2 separate regions of the Homo sapiens genome follow, and region 1 is linked to region 2. The links are contacts of gene promoters, found by promoter capture Hi-C in human tissues and cell types (Jung and others, 2019). All regions are on one chromosome and are shown on one strand. Each heading gives the region's core, a stretch centred on a gene start or on the middle of the fragment in contact. The rest is flanking DNA. Distances are from core to core; before and after follow the strand shown.

What was found. The method cuts DNA at HindIII sites, captures the fragments that hold promoters and counts their contacts. A contact is called where the count stands out against the background at its distance.
Region 1: a fragment that was not itself captured here is called in contact with the fragment with the promoter of ZNF480 in region 2 in 1 of the 25 tissues and cell types used here (small bowel).

The regions. Positions count from the first base shown.
Region 1 is chr19:52,040,598-52,046,806 of GRCh38, forward strand. It overlaps ZNF432 (zinc finger protein 432), which reads right to left. Exons shown (of 5, transcript NM_014650.4): 3 at 883-1,009. Among named protein-coding and RNA genes, the nearest start is that of ZNF432, 5.1 kb to the right of the region's middle. The HindIII fragment of the contact is 8,925 bases long and covers 1-6,209 here.
Region 2 is chr19:52,294,725-52,300,376 of GRCh38, forward strand. ZNF480 (zinc finger protein 480) reads left to right here and starts at 2,445. Exons shown (of 5, transcript NM_144684.4): 1 at 2,445-2,499. ZNF766 (zinc finger protein 766) reads left to right here. Exons shown (of 4, transcript NM_001010851.3): 4 at 1-1,322. RefSeq lists enhancers at 2,507-2,556, 2,627-2,676. The HindIII fragment of the contact is 12,331 bases long and covers 1-5,652 here.

The sequences.
Region 1 (6,209 bases), core at 968-3,467, 250 kb before region 2:
TAATAGAAGACAGACACACTGGATTGGGCTGGGGTATGTAATGTGAGAGAATGTTACATTTAAGTAACTAGACAGTTTTCACATCTGAAAGTAGAGGCTTCTCTCTCAGGAAAGGGCAGATTACAGTCAGACCTTAATATCTGAAAATTTCACATCCAGGGATTCAACCAACCATGGATTGAAAATATTTTTTAAAAAACAATAAAAAATACAATAATAAAAAAAAATACAAAGTGCAGTGGCTCTTGCCTATAATCCGAGCACTATGGGAGGCTGACATGAAACCAACATTTGAAGCCAGGAGTGGGAGACCAGCCTGGGCAACATAGACTCCATCTCTACAAAAAAAAAAAAAAATTAGCCAAGCATGGTGGTTTGCACCTGTAGGCATAGTTCCTCAGGAGGCTGAGGCAGGAGGAACACTTGAACCCAGTTCAAGGCTGCAGCGAGCCATGAAGGCACCACTACATTCCAGCCTGAGTGAAAGACCGAGACACTGTCTCTAAAGAAAAAATAAATAAATAAATTAATTAAAACATATAGTATAACAACTATGTACATAGCATTTACATTGTATTAAGTATCAGGCATAATTTGGAGATGATTTAAAGTATTCAGGAGGAGGTGTGTGTAGGTTATATGCAAATACAATGCCATTTTATATGAGACTTGAGCATCTGTGGATTTCATATCCATGGAAAGTTGTGAAACCAATCCCTCTTGGACACTGAGGGGTGACGGTATATCCTTTTATCAGAAGCCAGAGGATGTGCCAAAAATCTAATATTCAGAGCACTGCAGTAACTTCCAAGGGTAAGCAACTGAGAAAGCAAAGGCCACAGACTGGGCACCCTCCAGGTGACACAGAGCAGCTGTCCTCACCCATTGATAGCAGGTTGCTGTAGATCTCCAACATCACATCCCGGTACAAATCCTTCTGAAAAGGGCCCAGGAGCTGCCACTCCTCCCAGGTGAACTCCACAGTAACATCCTCCAGTGTCAGCAATTCCTGTAAGAAAACAGAGCCTTGCTTAATAGGAAGTGTTTCTCTTTTACTGACATGAAAAGAAAGTGAAGGGAAGTTGTCCCGCTCACATTAAACATATAGACTGCATCCATCTATAAGTCTATTGTATTTTTTAATATTGCCAGAGAATCTCCAAGTATTCTATAATTGCACAGTGCCCCATTTGCTCAACAAAAATTAAGGTTTTATATCAAATCCTCTCAGTAAAAGCGGGTTTTATGTATAAATTTTAATTTTGGTATCTATTGACCAGTCAAGAAAGTATATGCTACTGACATCTAGATATCTGATATAAATTGTTTCATTCACTGTTAAGCCTTCCCAGCTAATACTAGCATAAGACATAGAGAGACTTCAGATGCTAGAACCACAGGATACTACATTCATGTTTAATTGTTAAATGGATTAAAAAATAGAAATGTACAGAAAACATGAGAAACTATTAAAGAGTAACCAAATTGGGAAAACTTATTCTTGGAAACATACATTAAATATATATGTATGCACACATACATATAAATATATGTTTATGTATATATACGTATACAGTCACAGGTATATGTGTCTATTAACAGAAAGGTTATATTAAATACACTGAAGAGATAATTAGTGAGTTGGAATTCACAGTAAAAAAAATAACAGGGCCAGGTGTGGTGGCTCACACCTGTAATCCCAGCACTTTGGGAGGCTGAGGCAGGCGGATAGCTTGAGCTCAGGAGTTCAAGACCAGCCTGGGAAACATGGTGAAATCCTATCTCTACCAAAAAGACAAAAATTAACCAGGTGCGGTGGCACACACCTGTGATCCCAGCTACTTGGGAGGGTGAGGTGGGAGGATTGCTGGAGCCCAGGAAGTTGAGGCTGCAGTGAGCTGTGATCATGCCACTGTACTCCAGCCTGGGTGACAGAGTGAGACCCTATCTCAAAAAATTAAAATAACTGAAAAATGAAGCAGAGACACAAAGTGACAGAAAGTATGAAGGAGACTTTACTAAATATGGAAGACAGAGTGAGGCCTAACATATGCCTATACATAGTTTTTGAAATATTATATTCAAATAAGAGAAGCAATTTCCAAATATCTGACTGAGAAATTTTCAGAACTGATTAAATATCCTATAACTCAAATTTAATAAATCAACAAAGCCAAGCAGAAAATCTGCATCTAGACACATCAGACTGAAACTATTGAACATCAGATGCACATATAACATTATGCAAACAACTGTTAATAGAAGGAAAAGATGCATTACCATCAAAAGAAAAATAAAATGTCCTAACAACTGACTTCCACAGAAACAAAAGAAGCAAGAAAAGTGCAGAATAATGTCTTCAATGTCCTGATTCTGTGGCAATTGGCAAATTGTATGGTATGGCCTAGCCCTGAATGCCACTGGAAAATAAATTGAGACCCTCTTGTCAACTAAACTGCCACTCTCCTGTCTCAACATGACTTATAATCACATGGTAGTAGGAACTTGAGGCAGGAAAGAGCTAGGTGCAAATTTGTGGGGAAAAGCAAGAGAGATCAGATTGTTACTGTGTCTGTACAGAAAGAAGTAGACATAGGAGACTCCATTTTGTTCTGTACTAAGAAAAATTCTTCTGCCTTGAGATTCTGTTAATCTATGACCTTACCCCCAACCCCGTGCTCTCGGAAACATGTGCTGTGTCAAACTCAGGGTTAAATGGATTAAGGGCGGTGCAAGATGTGCTTTGTTAAACAGATGCTTAAAGGCAGCATGCTCCTTAAGAGTCATCACCACTCCCTAATCTCAAGTACCCAGGGACACAAACACTGCGGAAGGCCGCAGGGACCTCTGCCTAGGAAAGCCAGGTATTGTCCAAGGTTTCTCCCCATGTGATAGTCTGAAATATGGCCTCGTGGGAAGGGAAAGACCTGACCGTCCCCCAGCCCGACACCCGTAAAGGGTCTGTGCTGAGGAGGATTAGTATAAGAGGAAGGCATGCCTCTTGCAGTTGAGACAAGAGGAAGGCATCTGTCTCCTGCCCGTCCCTGGGCAATGGAATGTCTCGGTATAAAACCCGATTGTATGCTCCATCTACTGAGATAGGGGAAAACCGCCTTAGGGCTGGAGGTGGGACATTCGGGCAGCAATACTGCTTTGTAAAGCACTGAGATGTTTATGTGTATGCGTATCTAAAAGCACAGCACTTAATCCTTTACCTTGTCTATGATGCAAAGACCTTTGTTCACGTGTTTGTCTGCTGACCCTCTCCCCACTATTGTCTTGTGACCCTGCCACATCCCCCTCTCGGAGAAACACCCATGAATGATCAATAAATACTAAGGGAACTCAGAGGCTGGCGGGATCCTCCATATGCTGAACGCTGGTTCCCCGGGTCCCCTTATTTCTTTCTCTATACTTTGTCTCTGTGTCTTTTTCTTTTCCAAGTCTCTCGTTCCACCTTACGAGAAACACCCACAAGTGTGGAGGGGCAACCCACCCCTTCACAAATTGATGGGATAATCTATCCCCATATAATCACAGAGATTAATACACAGAGAAAAGAACAGACTTGCTGAAGTCTGCAAATTCTTAATGCTGCTGATCTCATCACATTCGGGAATTATTTCACACGAGAAATAAATCTGTTTGAAAAAAAATGTAGGTTTCTACCTAATTTCATACTCAAAAATAAGTTTTTCCTGTTTAAAGTCCTTACCAGAAAGCAAAAGAACCTGTGGAAGCAGAAGCAAATACGAAATATATTCATGTTAAAAGCCATAAAGGAAAAAAAAGGGACAAATTTTATGAGAAAAAAAATTTAATTTCTACATTGAAAAACAGATCATAAACAAAGCTGAAAGAAAAATGACAGGCTAAAAAAAACTTTGCAATAAACAAAAGATCAATATATAGTAGATATAAGCAACTCATTAGCCAGTAAGAAAAAAGTTTTTTTAATGTAAAAATCATAAAGTCAGGCATTTCACAAGAGAAAAAAATCCAGTTGGCCAAGAAATACACAAGAAGGCTTTCAACCTCACCTGTGATGAGGAAAATGCAAAATAAGACAAAAGAATATTGGATCATTGAAAATTGTATAATTTGATAATGTCATATTTTTAAGTATTGGCAAAGATTTAAGGCACAAAGGACTCCATGTATCAGTTTCTATGTGGCAGGCACTCATCTAAATACTTTACATAGTTTAACAATGTTTTCATGTATGACTTTAGACAAATGGAATTTTATACAGTCAATATTCTTCAATTAATTGCAGTGATTATTCCTTTATATTCTAAAACTACACCACCTAAGGTAGGGGTGTCCAATCTTTTGGCTTCCCTGGGCCACACTGGAAGAAGAAATGCGTTGGGCCATGCATAAAATACACTAACACTAACGATAGCTGGAAAAAAATGCAAAAAATTCTCATTATAAGAAAATTTACAAATTTGTGTTGGGCCACATTCAAAGCCATCCTGAGCTGCATGCAGCCCACAGGCCACAGGTTGTACAAGCTTGATCTAAGGTGACCAACAGGTGGAATGTGATTCCACTGAAGCAAAAGAAGTCATAATAAATGTGTTTATATATGCAGACACATACATAAAACACATGGATTTATAAATACACATATATACAGAGATGCACACATTTCAGTGACAGCAAGTATGTGCTACCAAACATTTGTTGAAGCAGTATAAGAGGATTAGGAAGAAAGTTATGAAGAGGGAATCTACTTTTACTTTTTTTACCTTTTTTTTTTTTTTTTTTTTCGAGACGGAGTTTCGCTCTTGTTGCCCAGGCTGGAGTGCAATGGCATGATCTCGGCTCACCACAACCTCCACCTCCCGGATTCAAGCGATTCTCCTGTCTCAGTCTCCTGAGTAGCTGGGATTACAGGCATGCGCCACCACACCCAGTTAATTTTGTGTTTTTAGTAGAGATACGGTTTCTCCATGTTGGTCAGGCTGGTCTTGAACTCCCGACCTCAGGTGACCCGCCTGGTTGGCCTCCAAAAGTGCTGGGATTACAGGCGTGAGCCACTGTGCCCGGCCCGGAAATTTACTTTTTTAACCAGTGTGTACTTCATCATCAGAATTTATTTCCCTGTGAGGCCAGGTGCAGTGGCTCACGCCTGTAATCCCAGCACTTTGGGAGGCCGAGGCGGGTGGATCACCTGAGGTCAGGAGTTCGAGACCAGCCTGGCCAAGATGGCAAAACCCCATCTCTACTAAAAATACAAAAACTAGCCAGGCATGCAAGTGCACACCTGTAATCCCAGCTACTCAGGAAGCTGAGGCAGAAGAATCCCTTGAACCCAGGACGTGGAGGTTGCAGTAAGCCAAGATCACGCACTGCACTCCGGCTTGGGCAACAGAGTGAGATTCCATCTCAAAAAACAAAAACCAAAAAAAAAAAAAAAAAAAGAATTTTTTCCCTTTGGATTCCATGAGTAATTTATGTAATTACAAAAAATAAAAGCAATATAAGTATGCAAGAATTGGAGGTGAAAATGCAGAAGGATATTGTATATTCTGAGATGAGGTGAAGTTATCAAACATGGCACCCAACGACTCAAGACCTTATCAGACAACTCCCTAATGCCAAATCTGCAGTTAATGCCAGTTCAGCCACATGTTCAGGAAAATGGAAGCTATGCACACCTTCCATTTTCCTAGGTCACTTAGATTTTATTCCTAAATAAGCTCACACAGACACGCAAGACTTGAGTGTGTGGCCTTGCTTTCGTCCCCTAAAAAAACTGTTTCCACTGAGTTTGCCTGGTCTATTTCCATAGGAGTCTCTGAGGAACCGTGTAATAAACAGCAGTAAGAAATCTTCTGCCTTTATTAGAAAGCTAGTTCAAAACACTGTTCACCATATCACCTCTGGGAAGAATAGCAAATTTTTCTTGAGATCTAAGTGCCATGAAATAATAATCTCCTGAGGAACCTGTCTGCTTTCTCCCCACAGTCACTGTATAACTTAGTGTGACTTTCTTGTACTGGCTGTCAGAGACATCAGATGCAAACTGAGAGCTAAGGTAATGGAAAGGATCTTCTAGTCAGGCATTATTTTCCAACATCAGTCATTTTGTAGGAATCACATAAACACTATATTCCTGATCTTACTTTGCCATGATGTTGGAGTTAGATTTAAAGTTTATTTCTCTCTAGATTCTGAAATGATTTCTTACGGGTCTCTAC
Region 2 (5,652 bases), core at 1,195-3,694:
CAACTCTAGCTTCCTCTGGAAGCTCCTGCCATCTTGGTTAGGAAAGACTCTGATTTTCTTCATGATAATATCTTACGTTCCTTTTATAGTTACAGATACAGGTCTCATTGCACAATATGATTGTTGAAAACACTTGTGAAATTTTTTTAGTAAAATTGCCTAAGATACTTTTTATAGTAGACAATGAAAATTAGTGTGTGGGTTTATAATAAATATAATGTATTATATAATATGATTAAAATATATTTGTTATAAATATGATATTACTAGAAGAGCATTTTTCCAAAAGCTATGGAAATGTCATTTTCCCGTTACAGCATCAAGCAATATATTCCATGGTTCATTTTCAACTCTAATAAAATTATATTTTGTGTTTATATATGCACGTATAGACACATATATAATATTTTTTTTTTACTTTTTTCTTTTTCTGTACATTGCATCCAGATGCTATGCTTGTTTGTTTTTTTTTTTGAGACAGAGTCTTGCTCTGTCACCCAGGCTGGAGTGCAGCGGTGTGATCTTGGCTCATTGCAGCCTCCGCCTCCCAGGCTCAAGTGATTCTCCTGCCTCGGCCTCCCGAATAGCTGGGATTACAGACATGCACCATCACCACACCTGGCTAATTTTTGTATTTGTAATAGAGATGGGGTTTCACCATGTTGGCCAGGCATGGTCTTGAACTCCTGACTTCAGGTGATCCACCCGCTTCGGCCTCCCAAAGTGTTGGGATTACAGGCATGAGCCACCATGCCCGGCCAGATGCTATGCTTAATACATTTTTTCCGAATGTCACTCTAGTGAAAATTTTAGGGGACACAAAAATGAGACTGTTGTTTGGAGACAATATTTTTTGACAAGAGTATGCACAAGACAATGGCAGGTATAAACGTTTTATTGTAAATATGAAAAAGGAAAAAATGCTTTCACTATATTAGAGGACTTGAAGTAACGTGAAGTGATTCCAACCCTTTATCTTTATTTTATTTATTTATTTTATTATTTATTTTTTTGAGATGGAGTTTCACTCTTGTTGCCTAAGCTGGAGTGCAATGGAGTGATCTCAGCTCACTGCAACCTTCACCTCCCGGGAGCATGCTGCTCTATCTTTTTTTTCAGATGTTTGAGCTATTCCAGGTTTTTTGGGATTTCTGTTGGTTTGTTTTGTTTTTTGCTTTTCTACATAATTGTTTGGATAATCTTGTCAGTATCTACGAAGTGCCTTGATAGTAAATATATTAACCCTGTGTATCAATTTGGGGTAATTTCACATTTTTTTCTATGTTGAGTTTATCAATAAATTGATATTGTATATGTCTCTATCTGGGTGTCTTTGATTTCTTTCATCAGCATTTTGTAGTTTTAAAATCCTGAGAATGTTAAATTAACATATTTTTTGACTTTTTTTTTTTTTTTTTGAGACAGAGTCTTGTTCTGTTGCCTGGTCTGGAGTGCAGTGGCACAATCTCAGCTCACTGCAACCTCCGCCTCCCAGGTTCAAGCGATTCTCCTGCCTCAGCTTCCTGAGTAGCTGGGATTACACGCGTATGCCACCATGCCCAGCTAATTTTTGTATTTTTAGTAGAGATGGGGTTTTACCGTGTTGGCCAGGCTGGTCTCGAACTCCTGACCTCAAATGATCCACCTGCCTTGACCTCCCAAAGTGCTGGGATTACAGGTGTGAGCCACCTCGCCCGGTTAATGCTTTTTTAAAACCAACAATTGGTGACCTAAATTCTCACTGGCCTTAGCCCTCCATGCCCCTGGTGCTGTCACTAGAAAACTCTCTGGAGCTGAGCACAGGGTTACCTCTGTCCCTCCCGAAAGAACAGGGAATAGAAAAGGAGAGGATTTCTATTCTGCTTTGTGGGCCGTCAGCATGAAATTGCACATTCTGCCCAGGCAGGGCTTTGCAGTTCATGTATTAACTTGCGTCGCTTTCACAGACAATCCCAGGGCTTAATTAAATTGCTAAATTTAGTTTTTTATGTATTTATTTGAGAGACTGAGTCTCTGTCGCCCAAGCTGGAGTGCAGTGGCCGTCATAACTCAGTGTAAACTCGAACTCCTGGGCTCAAGCGATCCTCCCGCCTCAGTCTTCGGGGTAGCCGGGACTACAGGTGCCCGACCGCACGGTCGGCTTAAGATTAACTTTAATAGCAGGAATTTTCCTGGATCTAATCATTAGCCGACTTTGCTCAGTCCCGGCAAGAGTACAGTTCCGAGACAGCTGAGTTGCTCCAGTCTCCTTGACAGGTCTCCCCGGCAAAACCCGGAAAACAGAGGCACTGGAAGCGAGGCGGAGGGAAGCGCAAGCCCCACTCCGCCCCGCCCCCGCCCCCGCCCCCGCCCCCGCCCCCGCCCCCGCCCCCGCCCCCGCCCCCGCCCCCGCCCCCGCCCCCGCCCCCGCCCCCGCCCCGCTCGGACCCCTCCGCTGCGCGCGCAGTTTCCCACAAACCCGGAAGCGGATCGCGTGGAGTGAAGGTCACGCCGCGGCGCGTGAGTTTCCCTTTGTGTAAATTAATCTGCGCTTCCCAACTCCCCCGCGCTTCTGTACCCGGGATCTGAGGGGCCACACAGACCTTGAAATCCTCGCACCGCTCCCTCTACCCCGACCAAATTCAGGCGTCTCCGTGAGAGTCAGGCGGTCGCTTCCCTGTGTGTTTAAATCGCTCGGCGGCGGGTCCTGTCCCCCGTCCTTCTGCCACAGGGCCATGTAGTCACCTCCTGTCGCGGAGTTTTCCTGTTTCAAGTCCTTCAGTGATGCTTACATCCGCCCCGCACAGCGTAAAGTCCTCCCCCGCTAGGCGGATTCCGGTCTATGCGGTCCCCCAAGCCTCGCCTTTGTTGGCCCTGGAGCACAGCGCTCCAATCTCAATCCAGGAGAAGCCGCGTCTTCTGCCCAGTGCTGGGATTCTGCAGACGCCACCCATCTCTTGATCCAGACCCTACCTTTACCCTCCTTGATACGGGGCCCCGCTACTCCCCAGGCCTCCTCTTCCCAGACACCGCTTCTCCTAACCCTGCGTGTGGGGAGGTGACTTACTCTGTCTCTTGACATCCAGTGTTCTTGCGGGCCAAATAACACCCCACTGAAAAGGTGTTCTGCTTGTGGACATCGGATCCCAATTCCTTCCATGTGAATGTGTGCAGAAAGAGAGACGGAGAGCGAGGGAGAAGAAAGAGAAAAATTTTGAAGGAGAAAAGAAGATTGAGGGAGAGCCGTAAGCAGATGGCAAAGTAGAGAGTGGATGGAGGATTTGCAGAGACAGCGAATGAAGCCGAGAAAGTAGCAGGGGGAAAAAAGCAACTGGAGAAATGCAGAGAAAAGTTCCATCTCCGGAGAGATGAAGGACAGCAAGATAGTGAGAGGGGCAGCAAAGTGGGAAGTTCCTCAGTTTGAGAGTGGGGGAGAGGGGGAGGGATTTGGAGCCAGGGCAGACAGAGCAGCGTGGTGCTGGGACAGCAAGAGGAGTCAGCTGGTGACAACGAGAGCAGAGGGAGAACCACAGCAGGTGGAGGCCTGGGATCTCAGGGTGCCAGAGAGTGGGGACAAGGGGGTGTAACAGAAAAGAAGGGATTTAACAGAGAGAGCAGAGGGGGAGTAGAGTCAGGGGAAGAGGCAAGACCGGGCACAGTGGCTCACGCCTGTAATCCCAGCACTTTGGGAGGCCAAGGTGGGTGGATCACGTGAGGTCAGGAGTTTGAGACCAGCGTGGGCAACATGGTGAAACCCCATCTCTACTAAAAATGCAAAAATTAGCCGGGCGTCAGCGCGCGCGTGTAATCCCAGCTACTCAGGAGGCTGAGGCAGGAGAATTGCTTGAACCCGGGAGGCGGAGGTTGCAGTGAGCTGAGATTGCGCCATTGCACTCCAGGCTGGGCGACAAGAGCAAAACTCCGTCTCAGGGAAAAAAAAAAAAAAGAGACAAATAGGTGGAGAATGGGATGATCAAAGATTGAGCAGAAAGTTTGGAAGAGGGGTGAAACAAGTTGCCAGAATGGAGCAGAACAGGTGGAAGAGAAGGAATAGAAGGAAGAAGGGGAGAAACATCAGGAGAAGAGAGGGGCTCAAAATGAGCAGAATCTTAGGGGAAAAATAAAGGGGGAAAAAAGCTAGAGAAAGAAGGTGAGAATGAGAGATACGTACAGAATGAGGGAGGGAAACACAGTACCCAGAAAAGAGGGAACCCTGGGTGCAGATGAACGGTGAGTTGATTGGATATTATGATTAAGTTGTGACATTGATTTATCTATTTATAATTTGATAATATGAAATATACTTTAAAAATACAGATGAAAATGGATATGCAAAACTCCTGTCTGTAAGGCTGGTGCATTTTATAATTCTTGGCATCAGACTTTAGCTTCCACTCACATTCCCTATTCAGGCACAGGTCAGTGACTTGAGTCATTCAGGTGTGGGTCACCCACTTTCCTTTTCCTGGGATGGGGTAGGGTGTGGGCGAGTGTAAAAGATAGCAGGAAAACCAAAGTGTTTTTCCTACTCTTGCAGTCAACACAATAGTGAACACTCAACACAGAATGCTTCATATCTGATGAACAAAATGTGTGGGGATTTCTTCCCACCAACAAGCAATTCGTCAGACACCGCCTGGGTGATCCGTAATTTCAGTCAAGTTGACACTGTCTACTTGAAGTTAGCATCAGATCCCACAGGTTGGGGGCTCAGTTCCACAAGGCTGCCGCTACTTCACGTGCTGGTTGTAAGTTCCTGGTTGGGACCTGAACTTCAACCAAACATCTAAAAATTGAAGATTCCCTTGACCCTTTGCTCAGATTTTATTAATTTGTTAGCCTCATTCACAGAACTCAAGGAAGCATTTTGCTTAGTTTTACCCATTTGCTATGAAGAATATTGCAAAAGATACAGATGACTAGCCCGATGGAAGAACCCTCCTAGCAAATTAATCAAAAGAAGGGGCTTTGGGATACCCTGATTTTTTTTTTCTTTTGTTTTGTTTTGAGACAGAGTTTCACTCTTGTTGCCCAGGCTGGAGTGCAATGGCATGATCTCAGCTCACTGCAACATCCATCTCCCAGTTTCAAGCATTTCTCCTGCCTCAGCCTCCCAAGTAGCTGGGATTATAGGTGTGTGCCACCACGCCCAGCTAATTTTTGTATTTTTAGTAGAGACGAGGTTTCACAATGTTGGCCAGGGTGGAATAAATGGAGTTCAGTACTGTTTGAAGTTCCAGGCATCCAATGGGGGTCTTGGGACATCTTCCCCATGGATACGGGGATTCCAGTGTGTTCTGTCTCTGGTGCTGAGCACCAAGGCTCTGTGTCCTCCATTTCTGAGGGATTACATGAGCCTGGGATCCATAGAGAGGAGAGGAGGGGCTGTGCTCTGCATGGGGTTTGGTCAGGGCTGGGTCTGGCCCTGAAGGGGAGCTTAGACCAGGCCAGCTCCCCACTGCTGCAGCGTGCGTGTGGGCATCTCTAGGAGGGGAGCAGGTTCTGAAGACGAGTAAAAAACTCACTTGTTGTTCTTCCTGTAGGAGTTTCTTGTCTCTGCATCAACTCTGGTGCAGTGGGCAGCAGAGGACATCTTTCCGCAGGGTGAGGTCTAACCTGTGTGTGTGATTGTGGCACAGGAAAAGGGTGTGTTGATTCTAAGCCCTAAACAGC